Linked DNA regions of Homo sapiens: all the other regions are linked to region 1. Evidence: promoter capture Hi-C in 16 types of primary human blood cells and fetal thymus (Javierre and others, 2016). All regions are on one chromosome and are shown on one strand. The core of a region is centred on a gene start or on the middle of the fragment in contact, and the rest is flanking DNA. Distances in the headings are between cores, read along the strand shown. Region 1 holds the start of ZNF267 (zinc finger protein 267). Region 2 holds the start of PYCARD (PYD and CARD domain containing). Region 3 holds the start of ITGAX (integrin subunit alpha X).

The links. Contacts are between HindIII fragments. The CHiCAGO score rates a contact against its expected background, and 5 or more counts as called.
Region 2: the fragment with the promoter of PYCARD here is called in contact with the fragment with the promoter of ZNF267 in region 1 in 17 of 17 cell types (activated CD4 T cells, naive CD4 T cells, naive CD8 T cells and 14 more); the score reaches 31.1 in activated CD4 T cells.
Region 3: a contact is called between the fragment with the promoter of ITGAX here and the fragment with the promoter of ZNF267 in region 1, in 3 of 17 cell types (neutrophils, monocytes and megakaryocytes). The highest score is 11.3, in neutrophils.

Annotation. Positions count from the first base shown.
Region 1 is chr16:31,871,239-31,876,267 of GRCh38, forward strand. ZNF267 (zinc finger protein 267) reads left to right here and starts at 2,569. Exons shown (of 4, transcript NM_003414.6): 1 at 2,569-2,731. The coding sequence starts at 2,729. RefSeq lists an enhancer at 2,390-2,684 and silencers at 2,571-2,620, 2,771-2,850. The HindIII fragment of the contact is 12,710 bases long and covers 1-5,029 here.
Region 2 is chr16:31,199,641-31,204,669 of GRCh38, forward strand. PYCARD (PYD and CARD domain containing) reads right to left here and starts at 3,120. Exons shown (of 3, transcript NM_013258.5): 1 at 2,777-3,120; 2 at 2,507-2,563; 3 at 1,846-2,201. The coding sequence starts at 3,050. The coding sequence ends at 1,945. PYCARD-AS1 (PYCARD antisense RNA 1) reads left to right here and starts at 2,245. Exons shown (of 2, transcript NR_102400.1): 1 at 2,245-2,346; 2 at 2,820-3,812. RefSeq lists enhancers at 1,951-2,581, 2,771-3,000 and a silencer at 3,111-3,470. The HindIII fragment of the contact is 5,508 bases long and covers 1-4,300 here.
Region 3 is chr16:31,353,914-31,358,942 of GRCh38, forward strand. It overlaps ITGAX (integrin subunit alpha X), which reads left to right and starts at 1,263. Exons shown (of 30, transcript NM_000887.5): 1 at 1,263-1,378; 2 at 1,980-2,085; 3 at 2,712-2,815; 4 at 3,118-3,188; 5 at 3,340-3,451. The coding sequence starts at 1,342. RefSeq lists enhancers at 525-654, 845-1,034. The HindIII fragment of the contact is 18,983 bases long and covers 1-5,029 here.

The DNA.
Region 1 (5,029 bases), core at 1,319-3,818:
GAGCCTTACTCGCTGTTTTTATCACCATCCCTCCAGCAACAGCAGCAGCAGCAGCATCCACAACTACTATTTCTAATTGTGGTAATAATGATGATCACACTTAGAATAATGATAAATAACAGTAGTTGTAATTGCTGACATGTTTAGTTTATATATAGATTTATTATTTGTAATGTTCTATAATTTACTTTTAGTAATATACACATTAATTGTGTCATAAATATCAGGACCTCAAAACACCCCACCTAATGAGTGATTCTCACATATGGACCCATGGCTGCCCACCTGCTAGCGTGGGTCCTCTCACCACTCCACCCCCAGAGCTTCGATCTGTCTGGTCAACATTCTGGGACAATGAAGTAGTTAAGTCATATGGTCTGACTGTGGTCTTGGCAAATAGCTTGACTTGTTAGAAATCAAAGGCTGACTTTAAGACGTACTCAGCTGTTTGGCTAAATTGTGGCAGAAAAAAATGTCTTCTCAGCAGATATACCTTTGTATCTCTTGCTTTCAGAGTAAAAGATTGTTTCAGTCACAGTAGTTTGAGTTAATCTGTATTGAAAATCATCAACAGCTTACAAATACTGAAAGGGGACAAAAATAATTTGCAGACACATTGAGTCCATTATAAGTGCTTTCAAATCTCTCCTATAAGAAATGAAAAATAGAATGTTAGGCCTTGATTTCTTAAACTCAGCCTTCAGCCATTTTCCCAAATTATTCTACATGTTTCCAAGACATTTCAGAAGCATTCTCTGGTGGGGATTATTTCCAATTGTGAAGAGTACTAGAAGGATGAGAATCAAAAGGAATCTTTCTTCTATCGCAAAAGAGTCAATCTCCAGGATTTCAAAGGCCTAGGGAAGCTGCTTGAGTTGTGAGGTCCATGGAGGTGCATGGGCTTTGGAGTCAGGCAGAGTTGATCCTGAGTTCCAGCCCAGCCCCTTAGTAGGCCCTAAGGACTCCCGTGGTGCTGTCACAAGCAGTGCTGCCTTTGGGAGCCCCTAACCTCCTGTCTTTTCTCCCTTCAGTGTGGGAAAGGGGTTTGGTCAGCCAGTGGTGTCAGCAGCCCTGTCCCACACCCGTTGTCTACACCTAATCTGGTGGCAGGGAGGCCACAGAGTGCAGCGACTAGAACTGGGTGAGAGGGTGAGAGGCAGCCATGCCCCAGGCCAAGACAAGTGCATGGAATCCTGACTGTCAGCAATCAGGGATGTTTCTGCTTTGGGGAGGGAAGCATTTGTTCCACACGTCTCACTGAATAAGGCACAGAGCCTGATCTGTCCCAAGTGGGAGTTTAACCAAGCTAGATGGCGGCCGAGGGCCCTGGCCCAGTTTGACACCCACCTCCTCTCCCACCTTCTACTCAGCCAGAAGACTAGGAGAATCTACTCAGCCGGAAGACTACGAGGTGCTGCAGCGCCACTAGCTCCAAGACTCCAGAAAAACAGGAATAGGGCATTCTGGCAGGTCAAAGCAGACAGAATACTTGAGCTCAGGAGTTGGCGAACTGACTATTAACCTGTAGCCCCAGTTACTTGGGAGGCTAAGGTGGGAGGATCGCTTGAGCTCAGGAGATGGAGACCAGCCTGGGCAACATGGTGAAACCTCATCTCTACAAAAAATACAAAAATCAGCCGGGCATGGTGGCATGTGCCTGTAGTCCCAGCTACTCAGGAGGCTGAGGTGGGAAGATTGCTTGAGCCCCGGAGGCTGCAGTGAGCCATGACTGCACCACTGCACCAGCCTGGGCAATAGAGTGAGACCCTGTCTCAAAACAAAAGCAAAAACCAGAGGTAGGGCTGAGGAGTCCGTGGCCACAGAGCCTGAGCCAGCACGGCCCAGAGGAACTGAGCTCCCAGCCCTGTCGCTGCCAAGGACCCTTCTTCCCTGAGCTTGAAGGGATTGAGAAGGAGAGACAGACGGACAGTCAGCGGCCCCGTTACCAGTGATGCAGACTCCAGGAGATGCGGGCAGAGTTGTAGATTAGAAGAATAGGCCAGCCCCTCTTCCACGTTCCACCACGGCCCGCAACATCCTCCTGGGACCCCAGCCTGCATGCCCCTATAAGATGCTTTTGCACTGGTTCAGTCTATGTATCATGCGAGGGCCTAATTGAAAACACGTGAATGAAGTGTACGGCCTTCTGTTCCCAGCTGAGGGGCCCCCTCCCACGGTGGCGTTAGCAGTGGGGTACAGTGCGGTAAGAGAGGTGCTAAGGGACGGGATGAGGGTCTTTCTTGCTTTAAAGGTGTCTAAATATACTTCTTCTTAAACTTAATTAGCTAATAAGATGTCTTATACAAGCAGAACCAGGTAAGGGAAAGAGCAAGTGTATTTCAAGTCGCAGCTCACCCCTTAATTAGCTGTAATACCCGCAGCAGGCGGCCCCACCTCAATGAGCCAGTCTCCCTTTCAAAAAAAAAAAAAAAAAAGGCACTAATAATGAGGGGGCGGGGCATGGAGCTTTATCCAATCAGGGGCGCTGGAGTGGAAACCGTCCAATCAGGAGTGAAGCCGGAGAGCAGGGGCGGCTTCCGGGATTTGGCGGGGGCCTTCGTCGGCTCCAGTTAGAGCTCGGGTCTCCTCGCCACAGCTCCGAGTCTTTCGTTCTGGGAGGCCCAGGCGGCTTCGCGTTCTGAGAATAAACAGAACCTCTGTTGCTCTGCGACTTGCAGGCACTGGGAGATTCGTAGCTAAGACGCCAGGGCATCCCGGAAGCTGGGAAATGGTGAGTGTGCGGGGTCGGGGGTCCCCAGAGGGAGGGAGGGCGGTGGTCGGAAGCGGCGGGAACCCGCTGTAGGGGCACCCGGGCCTCCCCGCAGTCAGCCTCGGGGTCTGGGCCCCGAGTCCCAACTGGTGCAGCTCGGCCCTCGGTCCCCTCCGCTGCAAGATGGCGGCCAGGCCGGCAGCCGGGACCCCGCGTGTCCTGTCCCATCCCGACCCCGCAGAGCGACCTCGTCCCTGGCCGGAGCCCTCTCTGGGCAGCTCCGCGTCGCAGCCCCGCGTCTCCCCCAGATTGTGCGGTGAGGACGGGAGCGTCTCAGGGGAGACCCAGGTTCGGTGTGTGGGAAGAAACCGTGCCCTGTGGGGTCCTCAGTCACTACTCCTCTTAAGAATTAAAGGGAGTCACTGTTAAAACGTTGAAGAATTTGAGCAAATAGCGATTTGTGACATGGGAAGCCTGCAGTCCTGGTTTGTGGTTCGGAGATCCCCAGAGGGGCTTGAAGGAAAGGTTTTTATAAGGTGCATGAGGAAGCAGACCAAATTAACCGATGGGTTACAGTTTGTAGTTGCCTTATTTAGACTATGCAGGTGGAGGTGAATTGGAGCTTTGTGGTTCGTTAAGTCTGAATTTTGTTTTCCCCTAAAGTTGTAATTTACAAGAAAAGCATTTGAGTTTGGTTTTGGTTTTTCTCCCTAGAAACCTGGGGCACTATAACCACTTCCGTATAATCGCCTGCTCATTAATCATCTTAACACTGCCCAGGGGAACTGGTTTTCCCCCTGCGCTTTCCTAACGTGTAGCACGCAGAGTCTCAAGTCCACCACTGTGTTCCCCCAGTCTAACTGGGCTTGCAATAAAATATTAAATTTCCAGTTCCTTCCCGACATTTCCAAAGGCCAACTTCCCCTCTCCAGTTCACATTCTTAACTATTGGTCATTTATTGTACATTTCAGACAGTATTTTACTCATTAATCATGATTTCACAGAGCAGTGGATGACACTTTTTTAAAGATTTGTGTTTTTTTGGCATACATTTCACGTGAGAGGAAAGCAGAGAATAAAAAATCCCTGACACTCCACTGCAAAAAAAACTGTGCCTCTTTTTCATTCATCTTCCCCAGGCACAGACACGTTATCGGAAAGAATGTCTTTTGACTTGAGGTTTTGCTTTGGAAACTTTACAGGGCCCTGTATAGCCACCCTCTATCCAGTCTTTTCCTGTTCCTGAATTTCAGAACTGTCTGGGATGACTCAAGATGCCCACAGTGGCCATGTCTCCTGGAGTGTTTAGTGACTGTCAGCCCCAGGTCACCTCCTGTTAGAGGACCGCCCAAGGTATGGAAATGTAGTCCCTCAGGGGAGCAGCTGGATGCCCTGGGGCTGAGAGAAATCTCCTGGGACACCCTTAACCTAAAAAGATAACCCCTTGGGACATAAGGATTTTATTTCTTCAAAGCTAGTTTTCATCCCTTGGAGACACATTGCTGGTCAGCCAATCGTTTGCTGGTATTGAGGGGAAACAGTCACAAATGATTCCTGCCCCCTAGATTCATTCAGATTTGTGAAGGGAGAAAAACTCCCAAAGGACCAAAAAACAAAAACCCCACCCCAGTGAGGTGGTGCAAACTCGGCTGCGGTGTCCATGGGGCACAGTGCAGGATCTGGGAGGATGGTCCCTGAGCATTTTAATGAGCAGTATTGGGGTAGGAGAATGTCTCAAATGATACCGTGACCTGACTTGACACTTGAGCCAGATATGTCTGTATTCCAACAGCATTACCACTCCCTGAGTTTGCTGCCTTAGATTGTTCATTTATTTCTACTTCAGTTTTTCAGTTAGTGTAAATTTCATCAGTAGAGCTTGAAAGATAAAAAACATTTCCAAGGCCATGAAAGGTGGATTTCAGAAAATTAAAATATCAAGTCATACTTCATTGTTAAAAATTCTTACTATCTTTTTTTTCAGCAGAATGAGTGTAGTAAGTTTCTCAGGTTTGTTCTTTTTTTGGGAGTAATTTAAAACAGAATCTCAGGGCTCACCTTTTGGAAATGCTGCCAGGGAAAAGAAACAGAGAAAATCTTTCTTTCATTATTGGCTGTAGAAAGTGAATACATTTTCACAACAACGTGTGGTAAATTGGTGAATTACATAGTTTCATCAAAACATCAGTTTCTTTTTTTTGTAGGGTGAAGAAGTTATGACAGTGGATATCTTTGTTCTTTATCCTCTTGTCTGGATGTTGAGTTTATTTTTTATTTTTTGTTTTTGGAGACAGGATCTCTCCTCTGTCACCCAGACT
Region 2 (5,029 bases), core at 1,870-4,369, 670 kb before region 1:
AGAGGAGAGGTTGCATGGGGTTAAGTGCCAGGTTAGGAGGAGAGTTTAGGTGTCCTGTTAAAAATGACAGTCAGCTGGGCATGGTGGTATGCACCTGTAGTCCCGGCTATTCAGGAGGCTGAGGCTGGAGGATTGCTTGAGCCCAGGGGTTTGAGGCTGCAGTGAACCATGATCACACCACTGCACACCAGCCAGAGCAACAGATGAGATCCCGTCTCAAAAAAAGTGAGAGTCTGTTCCCATGATCAGTTTGGATTTCTCAGGCTCTTGGAGCTAGAGGCAGGGAGGACAAGGTAGGAGGTGTGTTGCAGATAAGATGTAATTAGAGATAAGCCTGGTGGGGCAGTGAGGTTGGAAAGTGGTTGTTTGGTGATTCCTAAGGATAGGATTCAGGGTCTCCTTGGTATCTGCCCATTGCTTTGCAAATCCTCCCTCTTCAAGGCCAGAAAGGATTGCTTGTAAAGTGTACTTAGGAAGTAGCCCTAGATTCCTGCTTTCCCAAACAGCCTCTGGAAAGACCTCAAGTTTCCTGGAGAGAGATACTCATATTTCCCTTTGTAGGCAAAAATTGCATCAAGAAGGTGGGCCCGGTGGCTCACACCTGTAATCCCAGCACTTTGGGCGGCTGAGGTGGATGGATCACTGGAGGTCAGGTGTTTGAGACCAGCCTGGGCAACGTGGCAAAATCCCGTTTCTACTAAAAATGCGAAAATTAACCGGGTGGGGTGGCAAGCACCTGTAATTCCAGTTACTTGACTGGCTGAGCCACAAGAATTGCTTGAACCTGGGAGGCAGAGGTTGCGGTGAGCTGAGATCATGCTACTGCACTCCAGCCTGGGTGACAGAGTGAGCCTCCGTCTCAAAAAAAAAAAAAGAAAAAAGTGGCCGGGTGCATTGGCTCACGCCTGTAATTCCAGCACCCCAGCACTTTGGGAGGTGGAGGCGGGTGGACCACTTGAGGTCCGAAGTTCCAGACCAGCCTGGCTGACATGGTGAAACTTTGTTTCTACTAAAAACACAAAAACTAGCCAGGTGTGGTGGCAGGGGCCTGTAATCCCAGCTATTCGGGAGGCTGAGGCACAAGAATAGCTTGAACCTGGGAGGTGGAGGTTGCAGTGAGCTGAGGTCACGCCACTGCACTCCAGTCTGGGTGACACAGCGAGATTCCATCTCAAAAAAAAAGTTTTAAATGTTCCTTTCAAATGAATGAATAAGTAATAACCCTCCAAAAAAATCGCATCAAGAAAAGAGGCAGCTACCACACACAACTCATTTCCTGAAAATCTGCTTTGGTGGTTGGCATGTTTTTTGAGCAAAGTGCAACCTATGACCCTTTCCCCCACGGGATGGGGTGGGGCAGAGGGAGCCTTTAAGCCTGTTAAGAGCCAGCACCAGAAGGAGCCCTCGAGCAATTTGGTGACTTGTGCTCTTCTGTCCTATGTTTAGATAATGCTCTAATGTGTCTCCCCCTGCAAATTTCTCTAATTCTGCATTTTTCTCCAGTGGAAAATGTGGAAGGTAGGGGAGCTATGAAGACTAGTGTGTTTCTAAATGGCTTGGACAGAGCTGCCCACCAGTTTGCGCCCTTTGGTACATGCCTCTTTTAACCTTCGGACCTGGGTCACAGGCTGTTATCTATAATGGTAAGGTTAGACCCTTTAGGGAGCACTGGAGGAGCACCACCTGGTGAATGAGGAGGGATATTCCATGGCGATACCAGGAAGGATGGGGGAAGCATTTGGGGTGCCAGAGACCCTAGGGACATGGAGCTGGAGGCTGGGTGGCCTCTGAAGCATAGCTGAGCTCTGCACATGCCAGCAGGCTAGAAGCAGGAAAACACACAAGTTCAAGCTGGCTTTTCGTATATTGTGTATAAAAAGATCAGATTCAGGATGATTTGGTGGGATTGCCAGGGGCTGACCGGAGTGTTGCTGGGAAGGAGCCTCAGCTCCGCTCCAGGTCCTCCACCAGGTAGGACTGGGACTCCCTTAGGGCCTGGAGGAGCAAGTCCTTGCAGGTCCAGTTCCAGGCTGGTGTGAAACTGAAGAGCTTCCGCATCTTGCTTGGGTTGGTGGGCTCGGCCCGCACTGCCTGGTACTGCTCATCCGTCAGGACCTTCCCGTACAGAGCATCCAGCAGCCACTCAACGTTTGTGACCCTCGCGATAAGCGCAGCCCGGTGCTGGTCTATAAAGTGCAGGCCTGGGGGTGGGAGGAGAACATGAGCCAGCAGCCAGGGTGTGGGGCCTGTCCCTGCTGAACTTGAGTTCTTCAGGAATTCCTCTGCAAGCCTAGGGGCAGGGCTCCAGGGGGCGGCCACCAGGACCCCACATGCAGTGGGATGAGGGTAATATTGTCTCCCTTCCCCCGCAGGGTGTGGGTTGGTGGGTGGGGTGCGCAGGGTTGCCAAGCCGTGCCTGCCCTGCCCTGCCCTGCCCTGGTTGCGGGAGCACAGATGCAGGCTGTGCAGGAGTGCGGTGGGGCCGGGCTGGGTGTGGAGGCCTCACCTGGCTTGGCTGCCGACTGAGGAGGGGCCTGGATCCCAGCTGGCGCGGCTCCAGAGCCTGGAAGGATATGGGCCAAGTGATCCCCTTCCCTTCCCTTCCCGCCGTGGGGCCGGGGTCCCGTTGGTCGGTAGGCCAAGCGTGGGGAGCCTCCTTTCCGGTAGAGCAGCTTTGTTTAGGGGTAGGAGGAACAGAAAGCGGAAGAGCCCGCGGGGTAAGCGCTGGTGTGGGTGGAGGGGAAAGACGGGGTGGAGGGGAACGGGGGCGGCTCACCCTGGTGCGTGGCCGCCTGCAGCTGCCCGGCCATCTCCTGCAGGCCCATGTCGCGCAGCACGTTAGCGGTGAGCTCGGCGCCGTAGGTCTCCAGGTAGAAGCTGACCAGCTTGTCGGTGAGGTCCAAGGCGTCCATGGACAGCAGCGCGCCCCGCGGGATGCGCCCGTAGCCCTCGCGCAGCGGCACCGACAGCAGCTTCAGCTTGAACTTCTTGAGCTCCTCGGCGGTCAGGTTCTCCAGCGCATCCAGGATGGCGTCGCGCGCGCGCCCCATGGCTCCAGGATCCCCGGCCGCTGCCGCCGCTCACCCCGCTGCAGCCGCCGACCAGGAGGAAGTCGGCTCCGGGGCGGAACCTGGACTCCCCGCCTTCCTCCCACTCTGGTCTCCCGACTCCCCGCCCCGGTCCGTTGCCCTCCAGCAAAAGGCGCTTCCTTACTACACCCTTGGTCCCCTCCCACCCAGGCCTCTGGATTGGGGCCCCAGGCCGTCGGGGGACGCCAGGATCGCGCCCTCCAGCTGGCCTGCGAGGTGGGACCCGGGAGGGGGCCGCAGAGGGGCTCATGGGTGGCGCCTGCTTGTCTCTGGGCTTGCACCAGCGGGTACAGACCGGAAACCTGGGCTGGCTCTCACTGGGTTTATTGGAGCACCTAGGCTTAGAACCTCGGATTTCTAGAACCCCGAAACCTCCGCGGTTCCCCGAACCTTAGGATCCTCTCCCACATGTCGTAGAATCTTGGAATCATGACAGCTAGAAGCGTGAAGCTCCCTCAATTCCACATACTGGGGAAAAATGAGTTGTACAAAAGGGCAGAGAGTGCAAATCTCTCTGAGCTTCAGTTTCATTTTCTACGACATGGGGATAACCCTCCGGTGCTTATAAATATTCCAGCATAACATGGCCAACCCGATGGCTCCCGAAACCTTGCCAGATGCTTCCTAGGGGAGCCAGAATTTGATCCCAACACTGATTAAAAAAAAGAAAAAAGAAAGAGAGACAGCCTCCAGGAGATTAAAGACCATGAACTTGAAGCCATACAGTTCTTTGTTTGAATCCTGACTCTACTTCCCAAGGGGGATATTTGGAATCCTTTATTTTTCCCTCTCATCTGGGTTGTAACAATCACTGTTCCTTGTAGTCATACGACCCTGACATATTATACGTTTATATGCTTATTGGACATTCATCCCTCTCTAAAATGTGAGGCCTATGAGCATCGGAGACCTTAACTGTCTTATTCTTTGCTGAATTCCTAGCGTCAAGAATGTACCTGGAAATAGCTGTGTGTGGTGGAGGGCGCCTGTAATCCTAGCTACTAGGGCGGCTGAGGCATGAGAATCGCTTGAACCTCGGAGGCAGAGGCTACAGTGAGCCAAGATTGCACCACTGCACTCCAGCCTGGGTGACAGAGCTAGATTCCATCTGAAAAAAAAAAATGTATCTGGAACACATTAGGTGCTGAGTAAAGATTTGCTGAGTGAAGGAATGAATGAGGCTGTGATGCCTGCAGCATGTTGTATTCAAAAGCTTCCAGCATGGCTGGGTGCAGTGGCTCATCACGCATGTCATCTCAGTGCTTTGGGAGGCTGAGGCCGGAGGGTCACTTGAGCCCAGGAGGTTGAGGGTGCAGTGAGCTATGATTGTGCCACTGCACTCTGTGCCACTCGGCAACAGACACCTTGTCTCAAAAACAAACAAGACAACCAGGATGGGCCGGGCACGGTGACTCATGCCTGTAATCCCAGCATTTTGGGAGGGCGAGGTGGGTGATCAGGAGTTTGAGACCAGCCTGGCCAACAGAGTGAAACCCCATCTCTACTAAAAATACAAAAATTAGCCGGGCGTGGTGGCAGGTGCCTGTAATCCCAGCTACTGGGGAGGCTGAGGCAGGAGAATCGCCTGAACCCGTGAGGTGGAGGTTGCAGTGAGCTGAGATCACACCATTGCACTTCAGCCTGGGCAACAAGAGCGAAACTCCATCTCAAAACAGGAACAAAAACAAACAAACAAAAACCACGATGGGGAGCAGTGCTCTGCTACCCTGCTGAAAGCCTTTTTGTTGTTGTTGTTGTTGTTGTTTGTTTTTTCTTTTGAAGACAGGACCTCACTCTGTTGCCCAGGCTGGAGTACACCGGAGGGATTGTGGCTCACTGCAGCCTTGAACTCCTGGGCTCAAGCAATTCTCTCACCTCGGCCTCCTGAGTACCTGCGACTACAGTTGTGCCACCATGCCTGGCTAGTTTTTAAAATTTTT
Region 3 (5,029 bases), core at 13-2,512, 520 kb before region 1:
TATAACCCACTTTCTAAAATGAAAATGTGAAGATCTCAGTCCCCATGAATTCCCTTCAATGCTGTCCTCCACTCTCAGGACAAAATCAATGTGTCTTCACCAGGTGTGGTGGCTCACACCTGTGATCCCAGCAATTTAGGAGGCTGAGGCAGGAGGATTGATTGAGATCAGGAGTTTGAGACCAGCCTGGCCAACATGGGGAAACTCTGTCTCTACTAAAATTAAAAAATATATATATATAAATATATATATATATTCAGGTGCAGTGGTGCAATCCTATAGTCCTGGCTACTCAGGAGGCTGAGGCAGGAGGATCCCTTGGGCCCAGGAGTTCGAAGCAGCAGTGAACTATGCACCCACTGCACTCCAGCCTGGGTGGCAGAGCAAGACCCTGTTTCTGAAATTAAAAAAAAAAATTGATGTACATTAGGGGGGCTTCCACGGCCTGAGGCCTGCTTCCCCTTGCTTTCCTCCCAGTGGCCCTGACCTTGTCTCTTACAACTTCCCACCCTGACTGTCTGGTTCCCATTGCTGATTTCACACACAGACCCTCCTGTCCCCTGCCTCATCCATGTCTGGCTGCTCTGTCATCTCCCAACTTTGGTTGCTTTCAATGCTCAGCTCAAGCACCACCTCTTTCAGGAAGCCTTCTCAGAAAGCCACACCTTCACAACCCGGGTGAGGCACCCTGTGGTCTCTGTGCTTCCCCCTCACAGCAATGAACTTGCTGTTTATACATCTGCCTCTCCACTGACCCCAGGGCTGGTGCTTTGTGGTTTATATTTTCTTCCCCACCTAGCAGAGGGCTTGCATCTCCAGGCTCAAATTAGGCTTCTTGAATAAATGATGAATAAATGAGTGAATGAATGAATGAACAAATACTCGCTCTGTGCTCCTCCTAGGGACCCGGATGCCCCACTCCTTGGCCCAGACTTTCCAGGTCAGAGTGGAGGGCTCCCACCAGGGTTTCCTTTAGGGTCCTGAGGGGTTGGCATCTGCCCAAACCCCCTCCAGTCTGGCTGAAATTTCAAGGTCAAGGGGTGCCTTCTGGCAGTCAAGGGTGAGCCTGGGAGGGGCAGGGCAGGGATTTGCATCCATCTAAGCAAAGGGCATCAAGCCAAGTCATCTGATGAGAGTGACTCCGGTTGGGGGGTGGGGGCGTGTGGGAGGCCGAGCCTGTCCTCGGATCAGTTGCGTACTCTGCCCGCCCCCTCTGACTCATGCTGACAATCTTCTTCCTTCCCCTGGCCACCTCTCTGCCCACTTGCTTCCTCAGTACCTTGGTCCAGCTCTTCCTGCAACGGCCCAGGAGCTCAGAGCTCCACATCTGACCTTCTAGTCATGACCAGGACCAGGGCAGCACTCCTCCTGTTCACAGGTGAGCCTGGACCCCAATGAAGTAGGGCTGGGGACCCAGGCCCAAGGGAGCCAGGGCCCTGAACTGGGGGCTCAGGCTGGGGGGTTAGGATCTGGGTAGGAAGAGAGACTCAGTCAAGCCTGAGGGGGAGGCAGGCACATAGGGTCTGAGATTTGGAGTTTGTGGAGGGAGAGGATATTGATGAACCAATTTTGGGAGAGTTCCAGAGATGCTGGAAGAGAGGCCAGTTGTCTCTGTACTGCAGAGATTTTTAAAATAGGCAGAATGCGCCAACTTGTGCTCTGTGGACAGGATGCTTTGGTCCGCAAGTTTTCCTGGACTCACTCTCATAGCGCCCGAGGTGCACGTTGGGGAAAGATCCTTTTTAGAGCCTGGGTACTGCTCTGCAGAAATGGAGAACTGCAACTCGATAGTGGATGGTGGGCAAGGGGCATCCCTGGACCCTGGGAAGGAGAGAAGGGGATGAGTTGGGTGTCCAGAAGACCCAGGCACCCCGGGCATCAGGCTCGGAGGGGAGATTGGGACGCTGGGGCCGGGGGTGGAGGGCAGCCAGGCAGAAGGAAGACCCTTCTCCAAAGCTCTCTTCCCACCTCTTTCCCAGCCTTAGCAACTTCTCTAGGTTTCAACTTGGACACAGAGGAGCTGACAGCCTTCCGTGTGGACAGCGCTGGGTTTGGAGACAGCGTGGTCCAGTATGCCAACTCCTGGTGAGGCCCAGGTGGTGCTGGCCTTTGGCTCCATCCATCCTCTCCCTGCTCAGGGCCCCATGCCCCCGGCCCTGCCCTGTTATTTGCAAACTCTCCTCTCTGTCTGGTGTAGCGACTGCCCTGGCTAATGAAGATTTGCCTTGAAGGCAGGCACGGTCTCACAGCTAACATTTACAGAGCAGTAAGTGCAGTGCCAGGCTCATCACAGGTGGATGCTGATTTAGTCCACACGACAGCCTGTGAGTAGGAATCAGTCGTGCAACAAACACTTATTTGTTTTTTCTTTCTTTTTTTCTATACATTTAAAAATATATAGAGACAGGGTCTCACTATGTTGCCTGGGTTGGTCTCAAACTCCTGGGCTCAAGCAATCCTCCCGCCTCAGCCTCCCAAAGTGCTGGGATTCCAGGTGTGAGCCACCACACCCAGACTCAACAAATATTTCTTGTCTCCATACGCCAGAGAATCCAACAGACAGAAATCCCTTCCACATGGACTTTAAATTATTAAAATCCATCTTGCAGATGAGGAAGCTGAGGCTCAGGGAGGGAACGCAAACTTGCCGGAGTGGCAGCTGTGCTGCAGCGTCCACACTCTTACCTAAAGTGTTCTTTGTCTCCTCGCAGGGTGGTGGTTGGAGCCCCCCAAAAGATAACAGCTGCCAACCAAACGGGTGGCCTCTACCAGTGTGGCTACAGCACTGGTGCCTGTGAGCCCATCGGCCTGCAGGGTGAGTCACCGCCCCTCCCGGGACCCAGGGCCGGGCTCCCAGGCTTCCCTGCTCCAGGGGCCCGTGGACTCACCGGAGTGTCACTTTCAGCTTCCACTGTGTCTGAGACCCTCACCCTCAGATATGCTTCCTGGCCCCTTAAGGCCTCCCCGCCCATCGCACTCCCGCAGCTCTGTCAAGACCCGACAGCTTCCTTCACCGTCAGACCTCCTTGTCTCCCAGGTGGAGGTGACCCCTGCCCAGCTCTTCCACAGCCTTCTCTGTACCCCCGAGAGTGACCATGCACATATCTGTCCCCACAGTGCCCCCGGAGGCCGTGAACATGTCCCTGGGCCTGTCCCTGGCGTCTACCACCAGCCCTTCCCAGCTGCTGGTGAGTGGCCCTGGGTCACAGGAGGCTTCTGAGGGAGGGAGGGAGGAGCCGGGGCCGCGGGGGGCTGGGAGTCTCCTGTAGGGTGGAGGTTCCGGAATGTGAGGGTGGGAGGAAGCAGGGGCAGCCCCCCAGCAGCCCGCTGTGTCCCCAGGCCTGCGGCCCCACCGTGCACCACGAGTGCGGGAGGAACATGTACCTCACCGGACTCTGCTTCCTCCTGGGCCCCACCCAGCTCACCCAGAGGCTCCCGGTGTCCAGGCAGGGTGAGTGTCGGGACCACCAAGGCTTTGAGGAGCTCACGCACATCCAATTGGGGGTGCGGTGGGCTAGAGACAGTCTTGCCAGAGTGGATCAGAAAGAAGGGATCTGGAAAAAGAGTTACCACGTGTTGCAGTGGTTCCTGACGCTGCTGCCCGCACATCCTGCCGATCGCCCGCACGCTGCCGGACCTTTCCTGTGACCTTAACCTCTCCAAGCCTCAGTTTCTTCATCTGTTGGATGGGGATAATAACACACCCAGCACTGAAAGCAACACAGGATGATTCATGGCCAGGGGTTAGCACAGCAGCTAGCACCAGGCGACAGCCCCATGAAGGCCAGCTGTTGTTATTTTTAGAGGAGAGGATCTATTTTCATCCAATGGGTCCTGGGATATGACCAATTGGTTTGTGCCGTAGTTTAGGAAAGGTCAGTGAAAGTGCAGTGTGAGCAACGTGTGTGTGTGTACATGTGTGTATATGTATGCATGTGTATACATGTGCACATGCACACATGTACATGCATGTGTGTGCATGTATGTGTGTGTGCGTGTGCACATGCAGGTTGAGACGCAGGGCCTGACTTCCCTGGTGCTGATGGGGAAGAAAGATAAGGAAGCAAAACAGTGGGCTTTGGCAGGCTGAGGCCTCCCCCTGGTTTCACATTTGCTCTCAAGCCTTTGGTGAGACTGACATCTGGCTGCAAATAGGGTGTGCCTTCCAGCACCTCCGTGGGTCCAGACTCCATCCACAGGGGCCTGGGCACCCATCAGAATGCCCAGGACACCTGTCTCTCCGGTGGAGGCCTCTGGGGCAGAGGGGATGCTTGAGAGGTCACATGGAAGGGGGTTTCCTCTCCAGGTGCTGGAAGATCGTCTCTTCTCAGGACAGATGCTAACTTCACACAGGAGGGGAGTGGGGGCCTGTATTTAAGCTGAGAACAGAACAGGCCCAGTGTGTGGCTGTTGCCTGGGATGATTTGTTTAAAATATTAACAATCAAGGCAAGAGGGTTGTTTGAGGCCTGGAGTTTGAGACCAGCCTGGGCAACATAGTGAGACCTCATCTCTACAAAAAATAAATATAAAATACAAAGTAGCTTGGCATGCTGTTACATACCTCTAGTCCTAACTACTGGGGAGGCTGAGGCAGGAGAATCGCTTGAGCCCAGGAGTTGGAGGCTGTAGGGAGCTTTGATCACACCACTGCACTCCAGCCTGGGTGACAGAGTGAGACTCCATCTCAATTAAAAAAAGAAATTTAACAAAACTACCATTCAGCACTGAGCAGTGAGGACAAACACTGGCTAGGGACTGGTGCCAGTTTGTGTCATTGCTGGATGGGGTGACATTGAGGGAGGAAGGAGGGGTGGGTCCAGGGAGGGGCACAGATATCCAGGGTGGTGGAGGGGTAGGCCCTCTGCTTCCTACCGTCTGAATTGGAGAAATCTTCCTGGTTTTTTTTTTTTTCTTTTTTTTTAGAGATAGTCTTACTCTGTCACTGAGGCTGGAGTGCAGTGGTACAATCACAGCTCACTGCAGCCTCCAACTCCTGGGCTCAAGTGATCCTCCCACCTCAGCCTCCA